Linked DNA regions of Homo sapiens: all the other regions are linked to region 1. Evidence: promoter capture Hi-C in 16 types of primary human blood cells and fetal thymus (Javierre and others, 2016). All regions are on one chromosome and are shown on one strand. Each heading gives the region's core, a stretch centred on a gene start or on the middle of the fragment in contact. The rest is flanking DNA. Distances are from core to core; before and after follow the strand shown.

Region 1 (4,756 bases), core at 766-3,265:
CCACATACGCATTATTTCTTGAGGTCTGTAGCTCCTGGTGAGGGGCCCCAGGTTCCCGATGGGCACCTGAGAGGCCCAGGCTCTGAGGCAGGGAGCAGTCTGCCCAAGGTCACAGTGCCCTCGATGTACCAGGATTTCTTGGAAAACGGAAGGCTGGAGGCACTGATTTCCAAGGCCCCTCCTGGGGCTCCCGGCAGCCGAGGGCAGATGCCCTGCTCTTGGAGCCAGAAACCTTGGCTAGCTGCCGCCACACTGGTGACCTCCAGCAGGCTATGCTGTTTCAGAGCCTCGGTCTCCTCCTTTGAAGAGCAGGCCCAGTGATCCTTGGCTGGTGTGCCCCATGCTTGTTGGCACCACCAGCCAGGCCTGGGCGGGAAAAGCCCTGCATGACTCATGGGCCTGACATAGAGGGGCATGGCATGGCATTGTTCTTCCTTGCCTCCAAGCCTCTCTCCCACTGCCCTCACCACCTCTACCTACCCTGCCACCACCACCCTGGGAACTTGGGTGCCAGCAAACCAAAGAGGTGAAGCTTCCAGGCCTTTGACCCCACCAGGAACGGCTACCCTCTCGCCCACTCAACAGGTTGATTGAACACCTACTATGTGCTAGGTAGGCCTTGTGCTAGGAGATGCATCAGTGCATAAAAATCCCTGCTTTCATTGGCAGGGAACAGACATAAACAAACAAGATCATGCCAGTCTTGATTATACCAAAAAGATGAAATGGGGCATTTTAATAAAGTAACTTGCGGAATAGATAAGGTGGTTGGGGAAGACCTCCTGGAGCTGAGACCTCGATGATGAGAAGGAGCTGGGGAAAGAGGCTTCTAGAAGGAGGAAAGGGCTAGTGCAAATGCTCTGAGGTTGTAATCAGCTTAGTATTTGGGGATGAGCCAAGAGGCCAGGGAAGGTGGAGGCTGGGGGTGGGTGAAGGGAATGGGGGTGATGAGGCTGCAGAGGTGCAAAGGGTTCTTCCTTCCCAGCCCCCAGCATGGTAGGCTGCGCTGAGGACTGAGGCCCGGGCTTGGCTTCCCTCCTGCTTATGATGGGAAGGTGGGGGAGCAGGGGAGTGGGGAGTGATGTGATCTGATTTATGGTTTGGAAGGATTGCTTTGGCTGCGGCAAGCAGCCGGGATTGGAGGGGCTCAGGAGGAAGGAGGGGGAGGGCGAGACTGCAGTGGTCCAGGCTGAAATGAGGTGGCTTGCTGAATGCTCAGAGCTCCTTGAGCACACAACCTAGCGTCTGTCGATTTCACCTCCTGGAGAAACCTTCCCTGACTGCTCCGCCAGACTCCTCACCCTCTCCCATCTCCAGCCCCCTCATCCCCGGAGCTATCTGGCTGCTGGTCTGCAAGCAGCTGGAGTCCCCAGCATCACCCAGCCCACAGCCTGGCCTGCAGGAGGCTTCTAGTAAAGTGGCCAATTAATCCCCGAGCCCCGTCTTCCAGGGTCATGCACACAGTCACACGCGTGCTCTTCACATGTGTCACCCTGCCCCCACACACACTCACTTGGATCTCCAGACAAGGGCTTGGAGGGTAGGATGGGCAATCTAGGGGGCAGGAGGGGCCCTGGAGTCTCCTCCATTGAGTGTGCAGGCGATGGTGGCCACAGGGTAATAACAACCTCAGCGAGACCCTGAGGTCTGCCCCTCCTTAGGAATGGCCAGGCAGGGAAGAAGGGAGCAGTGCTCGGTCCCAGCATCCCACCACTGCCGAGATGGTTCTGAGCGGGTTCCTGGGCTGAGGCCGGGGCCTGTGTTTTCCAAGATTCCTTGGAGAGCCAGCTCCATCCTCTTCCTGATTATCTGATCTTTGGGCTACAGCAGAAGGAAAGAGCAGGGCGGAAGCGAGCTCTGGAAAGTGGAAAGAGGAGGGTGTGCGAGGAGACCCAAGGCGGGATCTAGGCTTTGGAACGTTGGAGGTTTCCGGCCACAGAGGCAGGGCCTCCGGGGAGCCAAGAGGGGCGGGGAGAGACACACACAGAGAAGCAGAGGAGACCAACGGACCGGACAGAGACGAGGAGAGGAACAGGAAGAGAGAAGCTGGGAGAATCGGGAACCTGGGGGCTAGTGACCTGCACACAGGGCAGGGGCACTCGGCAGTTCCCAGAGGCCACCCCTCCCACCCCAGACATCCAGACATCTGGAACTTTGGGTGCCAAGAGTCCAGCTTAATGCAGGCAGCCTGGCTTTTGGGGGCTTTGGTGGTCCCCCAGCTCTTGGGCTTTGGCCATGGGGCTCGGGGAGCAGAGAGGGAGTGGGAGGGAGGCTGGGGAGGTGCCCAGGAGGAGGAGCGGGAGAGGGAGGCCCTGATGCTGAAGGTGAGCTCTGGAGTGTCAGGGAGCTATGGGTGGTGAACTGTGGGTCTGGGAGGGGGTATTGCAAGGTTAGGGAAATGGACAATGAGGAGCGATTGGGATAGTCTCAGAGGAGTGGGAGGGTGATGGGCTCAGAGACAGGACTCAGGCAGCAGAGAATGAGTTATGAGTTGGAAAGGGGTGAATGGGGCATCTTGGTGGCAGGCTGGGGCTCACCACCCCTCCCCTGCCCCAGCATCTGCAGGAAGCCCTAGGACTGCCTGCTGGGAGGGGGGATGAGAATCCTGCCGGAACTGTTGAGGGAAAAGAGGACTGGGAGATGGAGGAGGACCAGGGGGAGGAAGAGGAGGAGGAAGCAACGCCAACCCCATCCTCCGGCCCCAGCCCCTCTCCCACCCCTGAGGACATCGTCACTTACATCCGTGAGTAACCAGAAGCCCTCACCCCCAAACTCCTAGGCCGCCGCGGTCACTTTCGCAAAAATGAAGGGTCGGTTCACTGCCAAGTGGCCTTTCAGTTGTCCATTGCCCAGCCCAGAGCCCCCACACCCCTAGGAGCCCCAGGTCCACGGCCATGCCTCCTAAAGGCCTGGGCCACTCGACCCTACCTTCCAGGAGTCCGGGGTGCCCCCCCCACCGCCACCCCGCCCTCAGGAGCCCTAGATCCCAGTTCTCCAGGTCCTCAGGCCCCCCGCTGCATCTCCAGGCTCCCCCTCCAGCATGATCCCTGTCTGTCCGCAGTGGGCCGCCTGGCCGGCCTGGACGCAGGCCTGCACCAGCTGCACGTCCGTCTGCACGCGTTGGACACCCGCGTGGTCGAGCTGACCCAGGGGCTGCGGCAGCTGCGGAACGCGGCAGGCGACACCCGCGATGCCGTGCAAGCCCTGCAGGAGGCGCAGGGTCGCGCCGAGCGCGAGCACGGCCGCTTGGAGGGTGAGTCCGCGGCGCGCGGGGTGGAAAAAAATGAGACTATCTGGGCCAGGAATGGGACTGGTTGAGAAGGTGACCCTAGGTGTCCGGGGCGGGAGAGTTCGGGAGAGCTGCTGTGTGCTAGCGGACGGGGTTAGAGAGCTGGGAGGCTGAATGCAGGGAGCGGGTGGGCACTCCAGACCCGCGCGGACCCGACTGGGGCAGCACCACGCCCCCTACAGTCCAGCTCCCACCGCCTGGCCCCGCCCCTGGCGGACCAGACTCTCCACCTCCTGGCTCCCGCGGTTCTGACCACGCCTCCTCCCAGCCCTCCCCATGAGTTCCTGGCCCCGCCTCCCTCCACCCCCGGATGTTTTGTCCTCGCCCCCTTCCAGACTCTGAATGCATGACCCCGCCTCCTTCTCTACCCGGCCCCGCCCACAGGCTGCCTGAAGGGGCTGCGCCTGGGCCACAAGTGCTTCCTGCTCTCGCGCGACTTCGAAGCTCAGGCGGCGGCGCAGGCGCGGTGCACGGCGCGGGGCGGGAGCCTGGCGCAGCCGGCAGACCGCCAGCAGATGGAGGCGCTCACTCGGTACCTGCGCGCGGCGCTCGCTCCCTACAACTGGCCCGTGTGGCTGGGCGTGCACGATCGGCGCGCCGAGGGCCTCTACCTCTTCGAAAACGGCCAGCGCGTGTCCTTCTTCGCCTGGCATCGCTCACCCCGCCCCGAGCTCGGCGCCCAGCCCAGCGCCTCGCCGCATCCGCTCAGCCCGGACCAGCCCAACGGTGGCACGCTCGAGAACTGCGTGGCGCAGGCCTCTGACGACGGCTCCTGGTGGGACCACGACTGCCAGCGGCGTCTCTACTACGTCTGCGAGTTCCCCTTCTAGCGGGGCCGGTACCCCGCCTCCCTGCCCATCCCACCACCCGGCCTTTCCCTGCGCCGTGCCCACCCTCCTCCGGAATCTCCCTTCCCTTCCTGGCCACGAATGGCAGCGTCCTCCCCGACCCCCAGTCTGGGCGCTTCTGGGAGGGCTCTTGCGGTGCCGGCACTCCTCCTTGTTAGTGTCTTTCCTTGAAGGGGCGGGCACCAGGCTAGGTCCGGTGCCAATAAATCCTTGTGGAATCTGACTTGAGGGGCAGTGAAGGCAGTCTTGGACTTTATCTCCTGCAGGGGAAGCCGGGAAGGGCCAGACCCTGGTCTTTGGGCGCGTGTCCTGGCCTTTGGATGCCTGTTCTGCTTTTTACAGATGTCATTTGAGCCCCAGATGGAGTGATGGAGAAACACAGGTGCATATGTACACACGGTCATCTGTTCTGTGCACAGATGGCCGGAGTACACGCGTACAAACGCTGTAGACACCTTCACCTCCATCGTGCCCTCTCTCTCGGCCTTTGGGACCCAGGGCCTGCCAGTTGTCCCAGGCCTTGGTCTTGGTCCTGGTCAAAGAGATTTGGGAAACGTGAAGGGGCTAAAGGCTCTGACAAGTCCGGCAGGAAAGAGCCCGTTTAATTTGTTTAAGTGGC
Region 2 (4,756 bases), core at 1,690-4,189, 470 kb before region 1:
CCTGGGGGTGGAGCAGGCTTGGGGAGTTGGGAACATTAAGCAGGTCAGTGAGGCCGGGTGTGGGGGCTCATGCCTGTAATCCCAGCTCTTTGGGAGGCTGAGGCGGACAGATTGAGCTCAGGAGTTCAAGATCAGCCTGGGCAACATGGTGAATCTCCGTCTCTACTAAAATACAAAAATTAGCTGGGTATGTGGCACACGCCTGTAGTCCCAGCTACTTGGGAGGCTGAGACACGAGGATCACTTGAACCTAGGAGGCAGAGGTTGCAGTGAGCTGAGAGCACGCCACTGCACTTCAGCCTGGGTGACAGAGCGAGACTCTGTCTCAAAAAAAAAAAAAAAAAGAAAAGAAAAAAAGAAAATTGAAGGAGGTCAGGTCAGTGAGGCTGAAGAGCAAGGGAGAGAGGGTGGGTGAATCCACAGTCAGAAATGTCAGCAAGGGGCAGATCATGCAGGGTCTTAGGGGCCACAGTAAGGAGGTGAGTTTTATTCAAACTACATAGGAGGCCATTGAGGTTTTAAGCCAGGGAGTGACTTGATTCAGTTTGTCTTTCATAGAAAGATCCCCTTGGCTGCTGCATGGAGAATTGGGTTCAGGGATGCAGGTAGAGGCGGGGAGACCTAAGGAGGCTGCATCCAGAGTCTTGGCAATCGTGGGAGCTCACACCATGAGCAGGGAGGGTGGAGTGGAGCGACCACAGGCCAGGGAGGGTTTCAGAATCCAGCTTTTGGGCAGAGGCCTCTGCTGGCCCCAGGCTGGGCAGTGAGGTACCTGGATGAAGACCCCGTGGGGGAGATGAGGAGTCTGGGAGCCACACTGACCCGGGTTCAATCTCAGCTGGGGTACTGTTGTTAGTTCCCATTTTACAGAGGAGAAAACTGAGGCACAGAGAGGTTTATTCACATGCCTGAAATCACACAGCCCCTAAGTGGCAGAGCTGGGATTCAAACCCAAGTTGTCCGGCTCCAGAGTCCACGCTCTTAACCGCTGTGCGGTAGAAACTGCTTTGAGGGGGTGAGGGAAGGATTCAAGGGCTAACACATCCGAGCCCGTCATGTAGTACCTGGTGCGCAGTAGGACTTCAGGAATGTCTGCCTGTTGTTCATGGCATTGTTCTTGATGGTACTTACACTCAAGGAGCTGGGAGGCGACCTTAAGGGGGACGAGCTGGGGGCCCTTCCCCGGTTCACCCCCGACGTCTTTCAGTCTGCTGATGTGCAGGCTGCGCCCTTACCATGAGCCCTGTCCCACAGGCTGACTTCGCGCTGGAGGCCCTGGCCAAGGCCACCTACGAGCGCCTCTTCCGCTGGCTGGTTCTGCGCCTCAACCGGGCCTTGGACCGCAGCCCCCGCCAAGGCGCCTCCTTCCTGGGCATCCTGGACATCGCGGGCTTTGAGATCTTCCAGGTCCACCCTTGTGCTGGGAGGGGGATGCCAACTTCCTCACTCCGGTCCTGGTCCTTTCTGAAGCCCTGGGTCTCTCCCCTTCTCCCTGGTCTCTGTCCCCCTCTCTCTCTCTGAGTCTCTGTTCCCCCCTCTCTCTGGTCTCTGTCCCCCTCTCTCTGGGTCTCTGTCCCCTGTCTCTGGGTCTCTGTCCCCTTCTCTCTCTGGGTCTCTGTCCCCTGTCTCTGGGTCTCTGTCCCCCTCTCTCTCTGGGTCTCTGTCCTCTCTCTCTGCATCTCTGTCCCCTGTCTCTGGGTCTCTGCCTCTCTGTCTCTGGGTCTCTGTCCCCTGTCTCTGGCTCTGTCCCCTGTCTCTGGGTCTCTGTCCCCCTCTCTCTGGGTCTCTGTCCCCCTCTCTCTGGGTCTCTGTCCCCTCTCGATGCATCTCTGTCCCCTGTCTCTGGGTCTCTGTCCCCTGTCTCTGGGTCTCTGTCCCTCTCCATCCTCCCAGCTCACGTGTCCTGCGTCCCTGCAGCTGAACTCCTTCGAGCAGCTCTGCATCAACTACACCAACGAGAAGCTGCAGCAGCTCTTCAACCACACCATGTTCGTGCTGGAGCAGGAGGAGTACCAGCGTGAGGGCATCCCCTGGACCTTCCTCGACTTTGGCCTCGACCTGCAGCCCTGCATCGACCTCATCGAGCGGCCGGTGAGCCCCAGGCCCCTCCCAGCCCACACTCACGGTTCAGATCCGTCTCTCCCAGCATCTGCGAGACCAGGGTCTAGCTCCTCCTCTGCTGGGCCTCAGGATGCCCCATGGGTTCTGTGGGGAAGGTGACAGCACCTGCTTCCTCGATCTTTTGTGACCATAGGTGATTAGGGCCCAGAATGTGCCTGCCACAGGGCCCGGCTCAAATCAATCGGTTAATCAGAGCTCTCACCGTAACTGTTGTTCTCACGTTTGTTTTTTGTTTGTTTGTTTTGTTTTGTTTTGTTTTTTTCTTGAGACGGAGTCTCGCTCTATCGCCCAGGCTGGAGTGCAGCGGCGCGATCTCTGCTTACTGCAAGCTTCGCCCCCTGGGTTCACGCCATTCTCCTGCCTCAGCCTCCCGAGTAGCTGGGACTACAGGTGCCCGCCACCACGCCCGGCTAATTTTTTGTATTTTTAGTAGAGTCGGGGGTTTCACTGTGTTAGCCAGGATGGTCTCGATCTCCTGACCTCGTGATCTACCCGCCTCGGCCTCCCAAAGTGCTGGGATTACAGGCGTGAGCCACCGTGCCTGGCATCTCACGTTTGTTTTTATGTCCAAGTGTGACTTATAAGAGCTAAAAATCAGCAGCCACCTGAGTGTCCAATATGTGGGGATCTGACTTACTCTCCCCCTGCTGTCAATGGCCAGGCCAACCCCCCTGGACTCCTGGCCCTGCTGGATGAGGAGTGCTGGTTCCCGAAGGCCACAGACAAGTCGTTTGTGGAGAAGGTAGCCCAGGAGCAGGGCGGCCACCCCAAGTTCCAGCGGCCGAGGCACCTGCGGGATCAGGCCGACTTCAGTGTTCTCCACTACGCGGGCAAGGTAGGGGCTGGGGCCGGCCTTGGGGCATGTGGGAGTGGGGATCAAGGGATCTCCACTGGCTACAGATGGGGGGAGGGTGCAGAGGGAAAACAGGGTCCTCCTGAGGTCCAGACAAACAGAGCAGGGGCTAGGAGAGCCCAGGGAGGAGCAAGGATTCTGTCTGATGGGATCACCAAAAACTTCCTCAAAGAGGTGATATTTGCAGTGGGTTTTGAGGGATGGGTAGGAGTTCATCAGGAGGCGATCTATGTGCATTTTATCCACTTATTCAGCAGATATGTGCGGGGTGCCATTTGTGTGCCCAGCTCGGGGCCGAGCAAAGCTGGATACACAGATCAAACATGGTTTCTGTCCTCACAAAGATCCCTATCTGGGAGGGAGGCAAATACAGACGATCAGGATATAAGGTTAATAGGTCTTTCAGTGGAGGCAGCTGAGGGTAGTGTCAGAGCCCAGAAGAGAAGTACCTGGGAAAGCTTCACAGAAGAGAATATGCTCAATCTCAAATCTCAGTCAAGGGCCGGCAAACATTTTCTGTAAAGGGTCCGATAGTAAATAGTTTCAGCTTTGTGGGCCAGACGATCTCTGTCACAGCTACACAATTCTGCTGTGGTCACACAAAAAGAGCCACAGATAATACATAAGTATCTTCAAGCCCCCAGGGAAAAAGAAAGGAAAAACAGACTGAGAAACAGTTTCGAGGGCTCTCTTGCCCCCAGAAGGGCCCCCATGAGTTTGACTATGAAGACATAAATGAAGGTTCTATTCCTATATATATATACACATATATATATACACACATATATATATACACACATATATATATACACACTACACACACACACACACACACACACACACACACACACACACACACACACATATATATATGTATTTTTTTTTATTTGAGACAGAGTCTCCCTCTGTTACCCAGGCTGGAGTGCAGTGGCACGATCTCGGCTCACTGCAATCTCCGCCTCCTAGGTTCAAGCAATTCTTCTGCCTCAGCCTCCCCAGTAGCTGGGATTACAGGCACCTGCCACCATGCCTGGCTAATTTTTGTATTTTTAGTAGAGACAGGGTTTCACCATGTTGGCCAGGCTGCTCTCGAACTCCTGACCTCAGTTGATCCACCCGCATAGGCCTCCCAAAGTGCTGGGATTACAGGTGTGAGCCACCGCGCCCAGCCCTATTCCAGTGAAAGTATTTGCAAAAAGAGGTGGCAGGCTGGATTTTGCCTGTGAGCCATAGTTTGCTGACCCCTGGTTTTGATGATGTGGACCAGGCAGCCCCAGAGGATGGGTGAAGGGTGGGAAGGGCTCTCCAGGCAGAGGGAACAGCATAGACAATGGCTGGGAGGCAGGAGATTCCATGTGTTCTGTGTCTAGCCCTCAGTTTCTTCCCCAGACATACTCCAGAACTCCCCCTGTACCCAGCCCTCTGCTAGGCCGTGAGTCAGACCTGGGCCCTGCCCTCGGGGGACCGCTGTCTGGTGGGGGGCACATATGCAGAGAATTGTAGCGGCCAAGATCGTGACTCTATGGAGCCCCACAGCAAAGCCCTGAGTACCCAGAAGGAGCCAGTGGTGTGAAACCCACAGAGACAGAACCCCAGGTGGCAGGAACCGCAGGGGTAAAACCCCGAGGTGGGAGTAAGCTCGCATGTTTGAGGAACAGTGCGGAGGCCAGGGTGGCTGGAGCGGAATGAATAGGAAGAAAGTGGTGGTGGTGGAGGTCACAGAGGTGGCAGGGGGCATAGAGGGGAAGGAGAGAGAGGGGACCATGCTGGTGGGGTGCAGTT
Region 3 (4,756 bases), core at 1,236-3,735, 440 kb before region 1:
ACTTTGGCAGCGGAGGCGGGTGGGTCACCTGAGGTCAGGAGTTCAAGACCAGCTGCCTGACCAACATGGTGAAACTTCGTCTCTACTAAAAATACAAAATTAGCCGGGTGTGGTGGCGCATGCCTGTAATCCTAGCTACTTGGGAGGCTAAGGCAGGAGAATCACTTGCACCTGGGAGGCGGAGGTTGCAGTGAGCCGAGATTGCACCATTGCGCTCTAGCCTGGGCAACAAGAGTGAAACTCTGTCTCAAAAAAACCCCAAAAAACAACAGCACGCAATAGATCCATATACCTTTCTATTGCCGAATAATGCCCGTTGTATGGATATTCCACATTTGTTTATCCATTCGTTTATTGATGGACATTGGGGCTGTTCCCGCCTCTTGGCGATGGTGAGTAATGCCACTGAGAACATTCCGGTACGAGTTTCTGCATAGACCTATGCGTTCATTTCTTTTGGGTATGCACCTAGGAGCGGGATTGTTGGGTCATGTGGGAACCCTATGTTTAAGCATCTGTGGATCTGCCAGACTGTTTTCCACGGCAGCTGTAACATTTCACATTCCTGCCAGTGTGGTAGAGAGTTGAGGCAGATGGGGTCACTGGGTGGAAGCCACGATTGGAGGGCTTCATTCCCGTCCCTTCCCTGCAGGCTGAACTGGAGAATGTGTCTGGGGCGCTGAACGAGGCTGAGTCCAAAACCATCCGTCTTAGCAAGGAGCTGAGCAGCACAGAAGCCCAGCTGCACGATGCCCAGGTGACCCTGCCTGCCCTTCGGCTCCACCGTCACCCTCCCCTCCTTGTCCTCCCAGCCACACCTGACATTGCCGTCTCCTCCATCTACAGGAGCTGCTGCAGGAGGAGACCAGGGCGAAATTGGCCTTGGGGTCCCGGGTGCGAGCCATGGAGGCTGAGGCAGCCGGGCTGCGTGAGCAGCTGGAGGAGGAGGCAGCTGCCAGGGAACGGGCGGGCCGTGAACTGCAGACTGCCCAGGCCCAGGTGAGCAGCCCTACGTAAGACCTTCAGGGAGGCACAGCCCCCCTCACTGCTCCTCCTGGGTTCCCCAGCTCAGGGATGGCCATGCTGCCCACCTTCTCATAGGCCAGACCCATGGGTGCCTTTCTCATCTCTGACTCCCCCTTACCCCCCACAGCCCATGCCCAGCCCTGGCTGTCCTGACCCCTGACTCTCAGCCTCATCCCTTGTCCCAGCTCCAGCTCAGCCCCAGCTCCAGTGCCGTCCTCTCCCATCTAGATCCTCCTCTTGGCCTCTGGGCCTCCAGCCTCTCCCCTAACAGCTCATCCCCTGCACAGCCCCAGAAGCTTCTTTCTTTACCTGGAGCTGACCCTGTCCCTCCTCTGCTCACAGCTCTCCCACGCCTCCCCAGTACTCCTAGACAAAGTCCATGCCTCTCAGTCAGGCATTGAGGCCCTGCAATCTCTGGTCCTTCCTCTGCCTTTAGCTGTATTCATCTCTATCTCTACTTTCCTATTTTATTTGAAAAAAACCTTTTATTTTTCCAGACTTAGCATTAGGCTCCCCTGTGGGAAGTTTCCTGACCCGTCTTCTCTTTCTCCTCTGTCCCAACTCCAGTCACCTTGGGCTGGGACTGTCTCTGCCCATGAGTCTCCCCACCAGACTGAGAGCCCCTTCAAACTAGAATCCCATCAGAGTTAGATCCAGGTCTGTAGCACAGCCTGATATAGGGCCTGATGTATGGTAGGCGTTGAGAAATGCCTATTGAATGAATGAGTGATGGTACGTGCCTGCAGATATCCTTCAACTGGCAGACTTCTATGCATACTTCAAGACCCATCTCAAATGCTCCTCCTTCAGGAAGTTTCTCCTGAATGTTCTAAACAGATTCTGGGCACTTCCTGTGGACCTCCATAGCTCCCATACTGCTACCTTAACCCCTATCACCCTGGCTGTGACTCTGTGTCTCCCCCAGCAGCCGAGGGGCTCCCCAGGAAAGACTCCAGGTCTGATTCACCTCTGCATCTTGGAGGGAGTAATTTTAATTCCCTGGAAGAACTAGGGCTCATAGTATTCACAACTTCACACCACTCAGAGGCAGAAGAGCCCAGCAGAATGACCCCTTTCCCTCTTCAGGCCTCAGTCTCTTCATCCTGGAAATGGAGCACCACCAGCTTACACCTTGGTCACTCATGGCCGTGACCACCAACCACCCTCTCTCTCCTCCCCTCAGCTTTCCGAGTGGCGGCGGCGCCAGGAGGAGGAGGCAGGGGCACTGGAGGCAGGGGAGGAGGCACGGCGCCGGGCAGCCCGGGAGGCCGAGGCCCTGACCCAGCGCCTGGCAGAAAAGACAGAGACCGTGGATCGGCTGGAGCGGGGCCGCCGCCGGCTGCAGCAGGAGCTGGACGACGCCACCATGGACCTGGAGCAGCAGCGGCAGCTTGTGAGCACCCTGGAGAAGAAGCAGCGCAAGTTTGACCAGGTGGGGCACCTCAGTTCACCCAGCCGGGGAATCAGCAAGTCCATCTACGCTTCCCATGGTCGTTGTGAGGAACCAGTAATCCGTGCTGTCACGGCTCAACTAGGCAGTTGTAGTGGACCAGGAAGCAAGACCCTTCTTTGCTCTGGGCCTCTGTAAAATAGGACATCCCTCTGTCCTGATTCATGCCTCTTGCCACAGCATAATTCCTCGTAGCACCCACTTTTACTTTCAGAGCTGCCCTGGTTTTTGGATGACAAAATATACGAATACCTTCAGTACCCCAGAGATTGCTTATGAGAATTAAATCAAATAACTCATCTCACTTCTGCTGATTCACGGGGTACCTCAGGCAAGTTGCTTTTTCCATCTCAGCTTCAGTTCGCCCATCTGGAAAATGGCAATAATACCAAGCATCTGGCAGCCTGAGGATGAAATAAAAATCACAGAACCTTAGAGAGTTCAGATCAGGCAATCCTGAGGTTCAGATCCCAATTCGGCCTCTTGATGGCTGTGTGGCTTGGGCAAATTGCTCAACCTCTCTGTGCTTTATTTTATTCATTTAGAAAATGCAGTGTGAAGCTGGGCACTGTGGCTCATGCCTGTAATCCCAGCACTTTGGGAGGCCAAGGCGGGCGGATTGCCTGAGCTCAGGAGTTCACAACCAGCATGGGCAACACGGTGAAACCCCGTCTCTACTAAAATACAAAAAAATTAGCTGGGCATGGCGGTGTGCGCCTGTAATCCTAGCTACTCGGGAGGCTGAGGCAGGAGAATCACTTGAACTGGAAAGGCGGAGGTTGCAGTGAGCCAAGATCGTGCCACTGCACTCCGGCCTGGGTGATAGAGCAAGACTCCATCTCAAAAAAAAAATAAAAAATTAAAAAAAATTTTTTTAAATTGTCATTTCCCTGTAGGTGGTGCAGTATGTTTTTCTAGCTGACTTACGATTTCTCTCTTTATGTTTGGTTCTTAGTGGTTTGACTGTGATATGCCCAGCTGTGGGTTTTTTGTATTTATCCTGCTTTAGATTCACTGTGCTTCCTGTAGCTGTGGGTTGATGTTTTTGATCAAATGTGGAACATTTCAGCCATTATTTCTTCAAATATTTTTATCTCCCACTCTCTCTCCTTCCCCTTCTTCTTGGACTCCAAATACATATGATTTGATTGTAATACTCTTCCACAGGTCATTGAAGCTTTATTATTTTTGGCATCTTCTGGAATTTTATATAAATTATTTTCACATAAATCTCTTTTGGGATGGGCTTATTTTACTCAAAATAATTTTTTTTTTTTGAGACAGAGTCTCGCTGTGTCACCAAGGCTAGAGTGCAGTGGCACGATCTCAGCTCACTGCAACCTCCACCTCTCAGGTTCAAGCGATTCTCGTGCCTCAGCCTCCCAAGTAGCTGGGATTACAGGTGTGCACCACCATGCCTGGCTAATTTTTGTGTTTTTAATAGAGACGAGGTTTCACCATTTTGGCAAGGCTGGTCTCGAACTCCTGGCTTCAAGTGATCCACCCACCTCGGCCTCCCGAAGTGCTGGGATTATAGGAGTAAGCTACCGCACCCAGCCTCAAAATAATTAGTCTGAGATCCATCCATATTTTTGCATATCAATAATGTATTCCATGTATCAATAATGTATTTTTGCTGCTGAATATTATTCCTGTGGTATAGATCAGCCACATTTTGATATTCATTAACCTTTTGATGAACATTTGGGTTTTTTTCCAGTTTTTTTCTAGTTATGGATAAAACCTTAGTCTTTCTCAAAGGTGGTTTTAATTAACATTTCCCTAATGACCAGTGACGTTGAGCATCTTTTCATATGCTTATTTGCCATCCATATATCTTATTTGCTGAAGCTTCTGTTCAGATCTTTTGCCTATTTGTTAATTAATGTTGTTTGTTTTACTATTATTGAATTTTGAAAATTCTTTATGGGCCGGGCACGGTGGCTCATGCCTGGTAATCCCAGCACTTTGGGAGGCCAAGGCAGGCAGATCACCTGAGGTTGGGAGTTTGAGACCAGCCTGACCAACATGGAGAAACCCCGTCTCTACTAAAAATACAAAATTAGGTAGGCATGGTGGTGCATGCCTGTAATCCCAGCTACTTGGGAGGCTGAGGCAGGAGAATCGCTTGAATCTGGGAGGCGGAGGTTGTGGTGAGCCGAGATCATGCCATTGCACTCCAGCCTGGGCAACAAGAGTGAAACTCTGTCTCAAAAAAACAAAACAAAAAACAAAAAAAAAACAAAAAAAAAGAAAGAAGTTATTTATGTATTCTAAATG
Region 4 (4,756 bases), core at 1,075-3,574, 360 kb before region 1:
AACAAGACGACAACTGGGTGTCGCGGCCACAAGGACGGCCATTTGCCTGGGAGCCCGTCCATCCCCCCCACCCTCGGGTTCTTTGATGTTCGCCAACAAACTGCCATCACAGGGAAAAGAAATGTTTCTGTGGCCCCTTCCCTTCCTAGTGACGTCTCTCAGCTCTACCCTCTCAAACCGTCATATGACGTCACTATGGCGTCATGGTGATGGCCACCTACCTGGATGACGTAATCATGGGCCGTGAGGTTAAACCAGACCCCCCCAAGAAGGAAGGAGACTGCGGGGAGCTTTGGGATTTCCGAGCACAGGATGATGTACTGGGGGAGAAGAGGAACTAGTGAAGATGAGAGATTCCTGCTCTGTTCAGTCCCTTCCGTGGCTCCCCAGTGCCATAGGGTAATTTCCCTATTGAGCACCTGGGTACTCAGCGTCCTGTGTGCAGAGGCCCTGCCGCCTAGACTTACGCAGTCCCAAGCAAACCTGCATGATCGTCTCCCTCCACCCGGCCACCATCCGCAGAGTCGCAGTGTAGACACGTGGAAAGTGTCCTCAATTCCTCCACCACCCTCCAGACTATCTGTCACGAAGTCCAGTGCCTGCTGCCCTGGAAAGCCCCTTAAATACTTGCCTCCCACCCTCAGGCCCTTTGATGTTCACTGTCAAACTGCCATCAGCCTTCCCAGCCCGTACCCACCAGACTGGGACCTCACCTCCCCAGCCAGCAAGGGGATTCCCCCAATGGCTGCATGCAGGGCCCGGATCTCCTCAGTGGGTCCTGTGATGAGGGACGTGCCCGTATCCAGGATGGCAGCACAGCCCTTGGCACAGAGAGTCAGCCCTGGGCCCACCTTCACACTGAGGGGGAAGGAGGCAGTCATCAGAGGCAGGGTCCTAGGAGTCCAGGCCCCCAGCCTCCAGCTCCAGAGCCAGGAGACCAAGTCCCTCACCGCTCCATGTGGATCTGCCAGTAGGCAGGGACCGTGACTGGCACGAAGGTGAGGGGTGGGATGTAGTGTGCCGGGTCCGAGCCCCCCAGGACCAGCTCTCCTCCATCAGGCTCTTCAGGGTCCCTGCAGGGGCAGAGTGTAGAGAGTGTAGATGTCAGTGTCACTGGCCCTCCCTCAGCCCTAGGTATTGCCAGGAATGGCACTTCCCACCAACTGGGTTGTTTCTGGAGTTCCTACGGGGTAATGGGATGCAGGAAGGGCCTAGATGTTGGGACTGGAAGCCGGGCAAGAAAAGCATGATGCTTTTCTTGGTGGAAGCTAGAACTTCCTGAAGTGAAGACGAGACTTCATTTGGCTGTGGAAGGTAGAGTTTTGGGGAATTTCCTGAGCTGAATATCATAGTAACCAAGTAGAGCAGTGGTGTCTTGGAATTGGCTCTTGAAGGTGTGACTTGTGCAGGGGTGGGGTGGCTTCCTGAGTAGGAGAAGAGAATTTCTGAATTGCCTGTTGTGATATCTAGAGAGGTGTTAGACTTCCTGAGTTGGCTGAGAGCGATGGGAACAGGGATGGAGACTTCCTGGAAGGTGGAGGAGAGCAGGATCTGCTAGGTGGTTGGTAGAACTGCTAGAGTGGGTTGGATGTCAGGGTAACTGAGTGGGCATAGGATTTTCTGACTGTGTGTGACAGGCCTCTGGGAGGGAAAGTGGAGACTTCTTGGAAACTTCTTGGATGTTGGGTGGGACTTCTGAGCATAATACTGAACTTCCTAGCAGGTGAGTGGGACTTCCTGGATTAAATCGGGCAATTCCTGACTTCTGGTCAGTGTTCTCAAATGGGATTTGAGCATTCTTTGTGAGGAAGAGAAAGCTCCTGAGTATTTTGTTGGGTGGGGCATGGAATTTCCTAGTTTGATTTTGAAACATGGAGCATTCTGAACTGATGGTGGGTTTCCTTAGTATGTCTTAAGTTGTCATTTAAGCTCTGGGACTTCGAATAGGGTTGAGGTGTTTCTTTATAGGGCAGGTGACTTCCTGCATGGAGGATGCAACTTCTTGTATTGAATGGCTGACTTCCTGAATGGACAGTGTAAGTGGGTGACTCTGAGAATGAGAATTCCTGCATTGGGTCAGTGACTTCCTGAAGGAAGACTCTCTTCCTTCTTGGGGATAGGACTCATAGATAGGTGCACACTTCCCAGTACCTGTTGAGGTAAAAGGAGAAGACAGGCTTATCCAATAGCCCCTGCTCCACCAGTACATCCATCGGGGGCCGAACTCCTTCCACAGACAGAATGGGAAAACCGAGGCCCAATATCCCATCAAAATGGGCAAAAGCGAAGACCAGGCTGGGCTCCCAGAGAGCCTCCCCGAAAATCACTGATGCACCCTTGATTCCACCAATCTAGGGGTAGATTGAGATGTGACCAGTTACTTTTGGGAGGACAATAACCACATGTCCTGAGGTCTCCCAAACCAAGGCATGAATCCTAGGTCTGGGGACTTCTGGATGCAAGCCCCAACTTCCTAGGAAACTATGCCTCTTGAGAAGCCCCACCCCTTCACCCAGGAACCCCTTTCTTCTCCTTGAGAAGCCCCACCTCTTCACCCAGGAAGCTCCTCCCCTGCTTGAGAAGCCCCACCTCTTCACCCAGGAAGCTCCTCCTCCCTGCTTGAGAAGCCCCACCTCTTAACCTTGGAAGCTCCTCCCCCCTGCTTGAGAAGCCCCACCTCTTCACCCAGGAAGCCCCTCCCCCTCCTTGTGACGCACCATCCCTTCACTCTGAAAGGCAGGCCCTCCTCCCCACTTGAAAAGCCCCATCCATTGGCTTGGGAAGCTCCTCCTCGAGCCTCTTCCTAAGCCAGATGATCTTAGACAATGGGGTTCTCCCAGGCTCAAGACTTCTGAGAGTCAAAGGCCACTCACAGTCAGCTTGTCCTCGCTCAGGATTCCATCTACCCGCCCAGTTCCATATTGAATGGCAAACTTGGTCCCATTGGCCTGGAAGGAGCTAGAGGCTTTGGGATCAAATCGGTGGTGTAACCCTAGGTTAGAGGTCAGAAAGGTGTCATGGGGGAGGGAATCTCCCCAGTGCCTACTGCCCCTTTGACTTTCTGACCTGTGAGGGCATGATAAAAGAACAGTTCCTCAAAAGCCTCTGAGAAGCTGAGGTCCAGCCCCGCCTCCTCCCTTCACCCCCATTCAGCCTTATTCTCCCACATAGAAGCTCACAGCAGGGCACACTGAAGAAGTGGCATCTCCTGGACGGGACCCAGAGATTGGAGGAGCCAGTGTCAAAGGCAACAGTGAAGTTTTGTGGAGGCGTTCCCAGCCCAATTTCCCCAAAATACTGCACCTGATAGCAAAAGAGGAGAGTAAACGAAGAGTTTGGCTCAAGGGCGCAGGGGTGAGGGCTGTGTGGGGCTGTGACTCACATCCCTGTAGTTCGAGAGAGGTACGAAGATGGGCTTGTCCCCAGGGGATGGGGCCCCCAACTTGGGGAGCTCTGCTGGTTCTCTCCATCCCCTCAGTAGGTTCAGGATCCTGCGTCCAGGTTGGACTCGATGAAGAGGGATGCTGTAGGGAAAGAGGATATTGACAGGAAGCTGCCCTTCTTGGAGAACCTCTAAATAGACTTACCCAAATAGGATATGATGACAAATTCAACATCTCCAAGGCACTACAATAGTAGTCAGTACCAGAAACCCTGCAATAACAACCTCCAGAAAAGCCCATCAAAGATGCCATGATGACAAATATCCCCAAAGACTTTACAAGAGCAAACCATCCCAAACAGACCTTTCCATGTCCAAATCCCTTAAAATAAGCTATTCCCAAGGAATTGACATTCTTAAAGATTTCCCAAGACCCTAACAGAAAACCTAACCTTTGCAAAAGCCCTTGGGTGGTGGCCCCTGCATGCTTCAGTTCGTGAGGTTAGGGACTATTTTCCCCACCCTTGAGGAGAAAAATGTAAGCGTCAAATCTTAATTGTCTTGCTGTGTTGCCCGTGCTGATCTCAAACTCCTGGCCTCAGCCTCCTAAAGTGCTGGGATTACAGAGGAGAGCCACTATGCCCTGTCCGGGTTCCTTTAAACTGTATTTGCAAAAGCAGGAGGCAAACAGGATTTGGCCCTTAAGCTGAGTGTTTGCAACCCTTGACTTAGAGGGCCAATTACAATTCAGGTATCTTAGTTGCTAATTAAGTAGGTCTAGGATGGAGCCGAGAATTTGGATTTCTAACAAGTTCCCAGGTCATGACGATGCTGTTGATACAACATTTGGAGACTCATTTTCTTTGCATTGACTTAGAAAATGGCCATGAGACATTAGGTTCAAAAAGCAGGTTAACAAGCACCATGTGCGGTAATATCTTCGTTCCTGCCTTTAGTCACTCCTTGAAGCACTTGTCACATCACTCACACCTTTCCCGTCACCCCCCATGAGTCAGTCTTTGAGAGGCACGAGAATGTGAAGTGGGGAAAACTCTTCCTGGAAGTGTACACCCCTCCCCCTACCAAGAGTTCCAGGGAATGAAGACAAGAGAGGAGAAAAAGAGAGATGGGGGCGGGGAGGGGACATCAGAGGTAAGGTAGTGGGAAGACTTCTTGCATAGGGTCCCCAAGATTGGATTTCTTTTTCTTCTTTTAAACTTTTTATTTGAAACAGGGTCTCCCTCTGTCACCCAGGCTGGAGTGCAGTAGTGCAGTCAGGGCTCACTGCAGCCTTGATCTCCAGGGCTCAAGTGATTCTCCCACCTCAGCCTCTGGAGTAGCTGAGACTATGGGCACACCACCACACCTGGCTTT
Region 5 (4,756 bases), core at 1,029-3,528, 340 kb before region 1:
CTTCTCGGCCGACCGGCCCAACGTGCAGGAGCCGGGCCGCGTGGAGGCGTTGCAGCAGCCCTACGTGGAGGCGCTGCTGTCCTACACGCGCATCAAGAGGCCGCAGGTAGGGCCCCGCAGAGCCTCTGCGCAGAGCCAACTACGTCCCGCGGCCCACGTGGTCCGTTCAGGCTGGGTTCTGCCAGCCACACTGCCCTCCCCTCCGCAGAGTCTTTCCTCAGGCCCCACCCTGCTCGACTGGGAGCCAGGTCTAGTCCAAGCACAGAGGCGGGCCCCACGCTGGCTCCCACGCCTGGTCGGGGAGGGGCCCTCCTTTCTGTTGGGGTGGGCCTCCCAAAGCCTGGCAGGGCAGGGGCTCAGCCAGCGCCCACCTGCCTCCTCCCTCAGGACCAGCTGCGCTTCCCGCGCATGCTCATGAAGCTGGTGAGCCTGCGCACGCTGAGCTCTGTGCACTCGGAGCAGGTCTTCGCCTTGCGGCTCCAGGACAAGAAGCTGCCGCCTCTGCTGTCGGAGATCTGGGACGTCCACGAGTGAGGGGCTGGCCACCCAGCCCCACAGCCTTGCCTGACCACCCTCCAGCAGATAGACGCCGGCACCCCTTCCTCTTCCTAGGGTGGAAGGGGCCCTGGGCCGAGCCTGTAGACCTATCGGCTCTCATCCCTTGGGATAAGCCCCAGTCCAGGTCCAGGAGGCTCCCTCCCTGCCCAGCGAGTCTTCCAGAAGGGGTGAAAGGGTTGCAGGTCCCGACCACTGACCCTTCCCGGCTGCCCTCCCTCCCCAGCTTACACCTCAAGCCCAGCACGCAGTGCACCTTGAACAGAGGGAGGGGAGGACCCATGGCTCTCCCCCCTAGCCCGGGAGACCAGGGCCTTCCTCTTCCTCTGCTTTTATTTAATAAAAACTAAAAACAGAAACAGGAAAATAAAATATGAATACAATCCAGCCCGGAGCTGGAGTGCAAGATGGAGAGGGCGCGGGCTTCTAGGGACCTCAGTGACACTGGGTGCCCGAACCTGATTGAGCAGGTGGGACTGGGTGTCCCCAGGCTGTTGGGAAAAGGGTGGCACATAGGGTCCCAGTGTTGGGTGGTGTGTCGCCTGCTGTGAAAGTTCAGGACAGAGGCCTCAGCCTCAGGGTCACCTCCCTGGACAAGGTGAATCAGAACTCACCCTTGAAGGATAAACAGGATTTAAGTGAATGAGGGGACCTGGACTTCTGTCCGAACAACAAGTGTTTGCTGAGGCCTCCTGTGGGCCAGGCACTGGGTTGGCCATTCTAGAGATGGAGACATTCACCCAATAAATGTTTCCAGAGCATTAACTACAGTTAGGCACAATTCTAGGCACTGGAAACATCTGTGAACAAGATAACCATCCTCCTACCAAGACTCGGGGGATAGGGACTTTAATGAGCGTGGCACTGTGGTGGGGCTAGAGGAAATCAGGGAAGGTATCACAACAGAGGCAATCGCTGGGACCTAAAACAAGAGCCTGGGGGCTGGGCCTCCAAGTTGAGGGAACAGCACGTGCAAAGTTTGAAAGGAGAGACGCCAGGAGTTCGGAGCGAAGCGACGAAGTTCCTCCAATCCTTCCTGCCCCTGTGCCAGCCCTGAAGGAGCTGAATGAGCAATTCCAATCGAGGGCGAAAGGGGGGTTGGATGGAGGGATGCAACTTAAAGGTGTATTTATTTGGGGCGGGGAACAGCGGAAGTGAGAGTAGTTACCAATGATCACCTTATCCTAAGAGTAGTGTACCGGGCGCCCCACAAGTGTCCCTATCATGCGTTGTTGAGTCTAATTTACGTATAGGGAAACTGAAGCTAGGATGAAGGAGAACAGATCAAGCCAGGACTCTACCGCTTATCGGCCAGCCTCTGCGGGGATCTTGGGCGTCAGGTCACCAGCTGGCTGCTGGGCAGCGACGGGGCAGCGCTCCCTACACGGCCCCGGGCGAGAGGCGGGCGGGGGGACGCGGAGGATGCGCGCGCAACACCCGAGGGTGGGAGGAGAGAGAACAGAACCGCGGCGCGCCCAGACCGCACGAGGTCGTGAAGGTAGCCGCGCGGAGGGGCGTGGCTTCGGGCAGACAGGTCATGGGGAGGCGGAGTTAAGGGAATTTTTCAGCAAGGGGGCGAGGCCACTTCGGAAGCTGAGAGAGGGGGCGGGGCCTGCCCTGCAGTCGAACAAGCGGGGCGTGGCCTTGCCCGCACTTGGGCAGGCGGGGGCGTGGCCCGTCTCTGAGCGCCGCGGCTCTGGGCTTGCGCGCGCGGGAGTCAGGGGTCACGGCGGCGTAGGCTGTGGCGGGAAACGCTGTTTGAAGCGGGTGAGTAGAGGGGAAAAAGGGAGTTCGGGGCAGTGGGCCTGGTAGGGAACGGGGCTTGAGCAGCCAGGCACATAGATCTGAGAGACGGTTGCGAGGGCACCCTTTGGCCCGGGGGCGCGCAGGAGAGGGCAGGGGCCAGGGGTTTCCTGGGCGAGGGCGCGGGGACGAGCAGGAAAAGGCCGGGGTGGGGGTGGAATTCCTCGGCGGGCAGGGGGCGCATGCGCCGGGCACCGTGGGGCGGGACGTGGCCCGGGAGGAGCTGGGGGGACTGGGTGGTGCACGTGCGGGCTTGGTGTCATCCTGGATTCGCTGGGTGTTTGAGTACTCTGTGCCAGGCACTTTTCTGGAAGCAGGAACAAGTCAGAGAAGTCCCTGTCTCGGGAAGACAGACGGTAGACAAGTGATGAGTTTTAATAGATCAGTAAAGCAGTGCTCTGGGGCTGTGAGATGCTCTCAGAAGGAAACTAACGCAGGGTAACGTGATAATGAGCGAAGAGCCTGTTGCTTTAGCTGGAGTGGTCCAGAATCGACCGCTCTGGGACCCTCAAGTGCAAAGCCCTGAGGTGGAAGGAGCTTGGCGTATTTGTAGCAGGAGCCGAGGGGACGAGAGAAACACAGATGAGGTCGGAGTCATGATGGGGAACTAGATCCTATAGGGCCTTGTAAAACTTGGTATGGAATTTCTCCTTTATTCTAGGTTCAGCGGGGAGCCGTGGGAGGGTTTGAGCGTGGAAACAACACGATTCGCCCCATGTTTTGAAAAACTCACCACTGAGTGGAAATTGGATTGTAGCAGGAATAAGAATGGAAGGAGGGAGATCTGTTAGGAGGGAGAGCGTCCTGCAGGCAGAGAATCAGGCTCCGGTTACCTTTGCGGGCGGAGACAGGGGGACTGGCTGATGGACTGGGCGTAGGAGCAAGGGGAAGAGTCCAGGATGACTCCTGGGTTTGTGGTTTGAGCAGCAGGCTGGATGGGGAAGGCTAAGGGAGAAGCAGGTTGGGGTTGCCGCTCTGAAGGCAAAGATTAGTGGGGGAGTGAGTGGGCAGGGTTTAGAGCGGAGCCAGGAGTGGGCAGGGCGATGTCAGTGCCTCGCCTCAGCCCTTCCACTGAAGGAACTTGTTGCCACTGTCTTCTCTTTTTTTTTTTTTTTTTTTTGAGACAGAGTCTTGCTCTGTCACCCAGGCTGGAATGCAGTGGTGCAAACTCAGCTCATTGCAACCTCCGCCTCCCGAGTTCAGGCGAGTCTCGTGCCTCAGCCTCCTGAGTAGCTGGGATTACGGCACCCACTGCCATGCCCAGCTCATTTTTTGTATTTTTAGTAGAGATGGGGTTTCGCCGTGTTGGCCAGGCTGGTCTCGAACTCCTGACCTCAGGTGATCCACTTGCCTCGGCCTCCCAAAGTGCTGGGATTACAGGCGTGAGCCACCACGCACGGCCGCTTCTCCTCCTTCCTGCACTTCCCCCCCACAGGTCTCTCTTCCCCCTAGAGAGGTTCCTTCCCTCCCCCTGAAATGCTCTTCCCTCTCTTATGTGTTTCTGACAGCTGCTGTTTGGACAGGCCCTCTGCTGAGCACTGGGGAGCCAATGATCATTCAGTTTGGTTGGGGAAGGACAGGAGATTTCAGTCCAGAGTGCGCTGAGCTATGGCGGAGCAGTGATAGTCTTTGGGAGCCAAGAGAAGAACCTGTGCGCTCAGGGAAGACTCACCAGAGTGGTTGATATTCACAGGGAGTTTCAACTCACATGTCTTTTTTTTTTTGGTTTTTGAGACAGGGTCTTGCTCTGTCGCCCAGGCTGGAGTGCAGTGGCGCGATCTCGGCTCACTAACCTCCACCTCCCGGGTTCAAGCGATTCTCATGCCTCAGGCTTCCGAGTAGCTGGGATTACAGGTGTGTGCCACCACGCCCAGCTAATTTTTGTATTTTTAGTAGAGACAGGGTTTTGTCATGTTGCCCAGACTGGTCTCGAATCCCTGACCTCAAGTAATCCTCCCACCTCGGCCTCCCAAAGTGCTGGGATTACAGGTGTGAGCCACCACACCCGGCCTAAACTCATGTCTTGAAGTAACCGGACACTGTGCAGAGTGATGCTGGAGACCCCAACTTGGGCAAGATGCTGACTCCTTTTCTCAAGGAGCTCACAGGCTGAAAGGATCCCAGCTCTGCATTGTGCAATAACGAAAGTGGCACAAGGCGTTGTGGGAACCCTGAAGGGCAGCTGGTCAGCTTGGAGGAGCTAAGCCTGAGCTGAGTCTCTGGATGCAGTGGAGTTTCATGCAGCGAACACTGCCTAAGGCCTCCTGGGGGCCCACCCTGTGCTGGGTGATGCTAAGGTCCCAGAGGAGAGTCAGTCCTTGCTCTGCCATCCAGAGGTCCCTGGCTGGTAAGGGAGGAAGACACACACCCAGGCAGTCCAGAGACAGCAGTCACAGAG

The links. The method cuts DNA at HindIII sites, captures the fragments that hold promoters and counts their contacts. A CHiCAGO score of 5 or more calls a contact.
Region 2: a fragment that was not itself captured here is called in contact with the fragment with the promoter of CLEC11A in region 1 in 1 of 17 cell types (naive B cells); the score reaches 5.4 in naive B cells.
Region 3: a contact is called between a fragment that was not itself captured here and the fragment with the promoter of CLEC11A in region 1, in 5 of 17 cell types (naive B cells, total B cells, activated CD4 T cells and 2 more). The highest score is 8.9, in naive B cells.
Region 4: a fragment that was not itself captured here is called in contact with the fragment with the promoter of CLEC11A in region 1 in 7 of 17 cell types (fetal thymus, naive B cells, naive CD4 T cells and 4 more); the score reaches 9.9 in fetal thymus.
Region 5: the fragment with the promoter of POLD1 here is called in contact with the fragment with the promoter of CLEC11A in region 1 in 3 of 17 cell types (naive CD4 T cells, activated CD4 T cells and naive CD8 T cells); the score reaches 5.7 in naive CD4 T cells.

Annotation. Positions count from the first base shown.
Region 1 is chr19:50,721,349-50,726,104 of GRCh38, forward strand. CLEC11A (C-type lectin domain containing 11A) reads left to right here and starts at 2,016. Exons shown (of 4, transcript NM_002975.3): 1 at 2,016-2,324; 2 at 2,557-2,743; 3 at 3,062-3,253; 4 at 3,674-4,360. The coding sequence starts at 2,178. The coding sequence ends at 4,119. RefSeq lists silencers at 3,365-3,484, 3,525-3,584. The HindIII fragment of the contact is 4,317 bases long and covers 531-4,756 here.
Region 2 is chr19:50,247,733-50,252,488 of GRCh38, forward strand. It overlaps MYH14 (myosin heavy chain 14), which reads left to right. Exons shown (of 43, transcript NM_001145809.2): 13 at 1,255-1,407; 14 at 1,918-2,091; 15 at 2,783-2,956. Among named protein-coding and RNA genes, the nearest start is that of MYH14, 46 kb to the left of the region's middle. The HindIII fragment of the contact is 982 bases long and covers 2,449-3,430 here.
Region 3 is chr19:50,279,385-50,284,140 of GRCh38, forward strand. It overlaps MYH14 (myosin heavy chain 14), which reads left to right. Exons shown (of 43, transcript NM_001145809.2): 31 at 653-757; 32 at 847-999; 33 at 2,210-2,458. Among named protein-coding and RNA genes, the nearest start is that of KCNC3, 48 kb to the right of the region's middle. The HindIII fragment of the contact is 2,331 bases long and covers 1,321-3,651 here.
Region 4 is chr19:50,358,790-50,363,545 of GRCh38, forward strand. It overlaps NAPSA (napsin A aspartic peptidase), which reads right to left. Exons shown (of 9, transcript NM_004851.3): 2 at 3,383-3,524; 3 at 3,180-3,303; 4 at 2,874-2,992; 5 at 2,152-2,351; 6 at 951-1,073; 7 at 714-858; 8 at 222-320. The region is part of intron 3 of LOC105372437 (a long non-coding RNA gene); the gene reads left to right. Among named protein-coding and RNA genes, the nearest start is that of NAPSA, 4.5 kb to the right of the region's middle. The HindIII fragment of the contact is 5,380 bases long and covers 1-4,756 here.
Region 5 is chr19:50,382,069-50,386,824 of GRCh38, forward strand. POLD1 (DNA polymerase delta 1, catalytic subunit) reads left to right here and starts at 2,279. Exons shown (of 27, transcript NM_002691.4): 1 at 2,279-2,322. It overlaps NR1H2 (nuclear receptor subfamily 1 group H member 2), which reads left to right. Exons shown (of 10, transcript NM_007121.7): 9 at 1-106; 10 at 388-1,320. The coding sequence ends at 534. RefSeq lists silencers at 1,943-2,042, 2,053-2,172, 2,203-2,292 and an enhancer at 3,012-3,513. The HindIII fragment of the contact is 22,211 bases long and covers 1-4,756 here.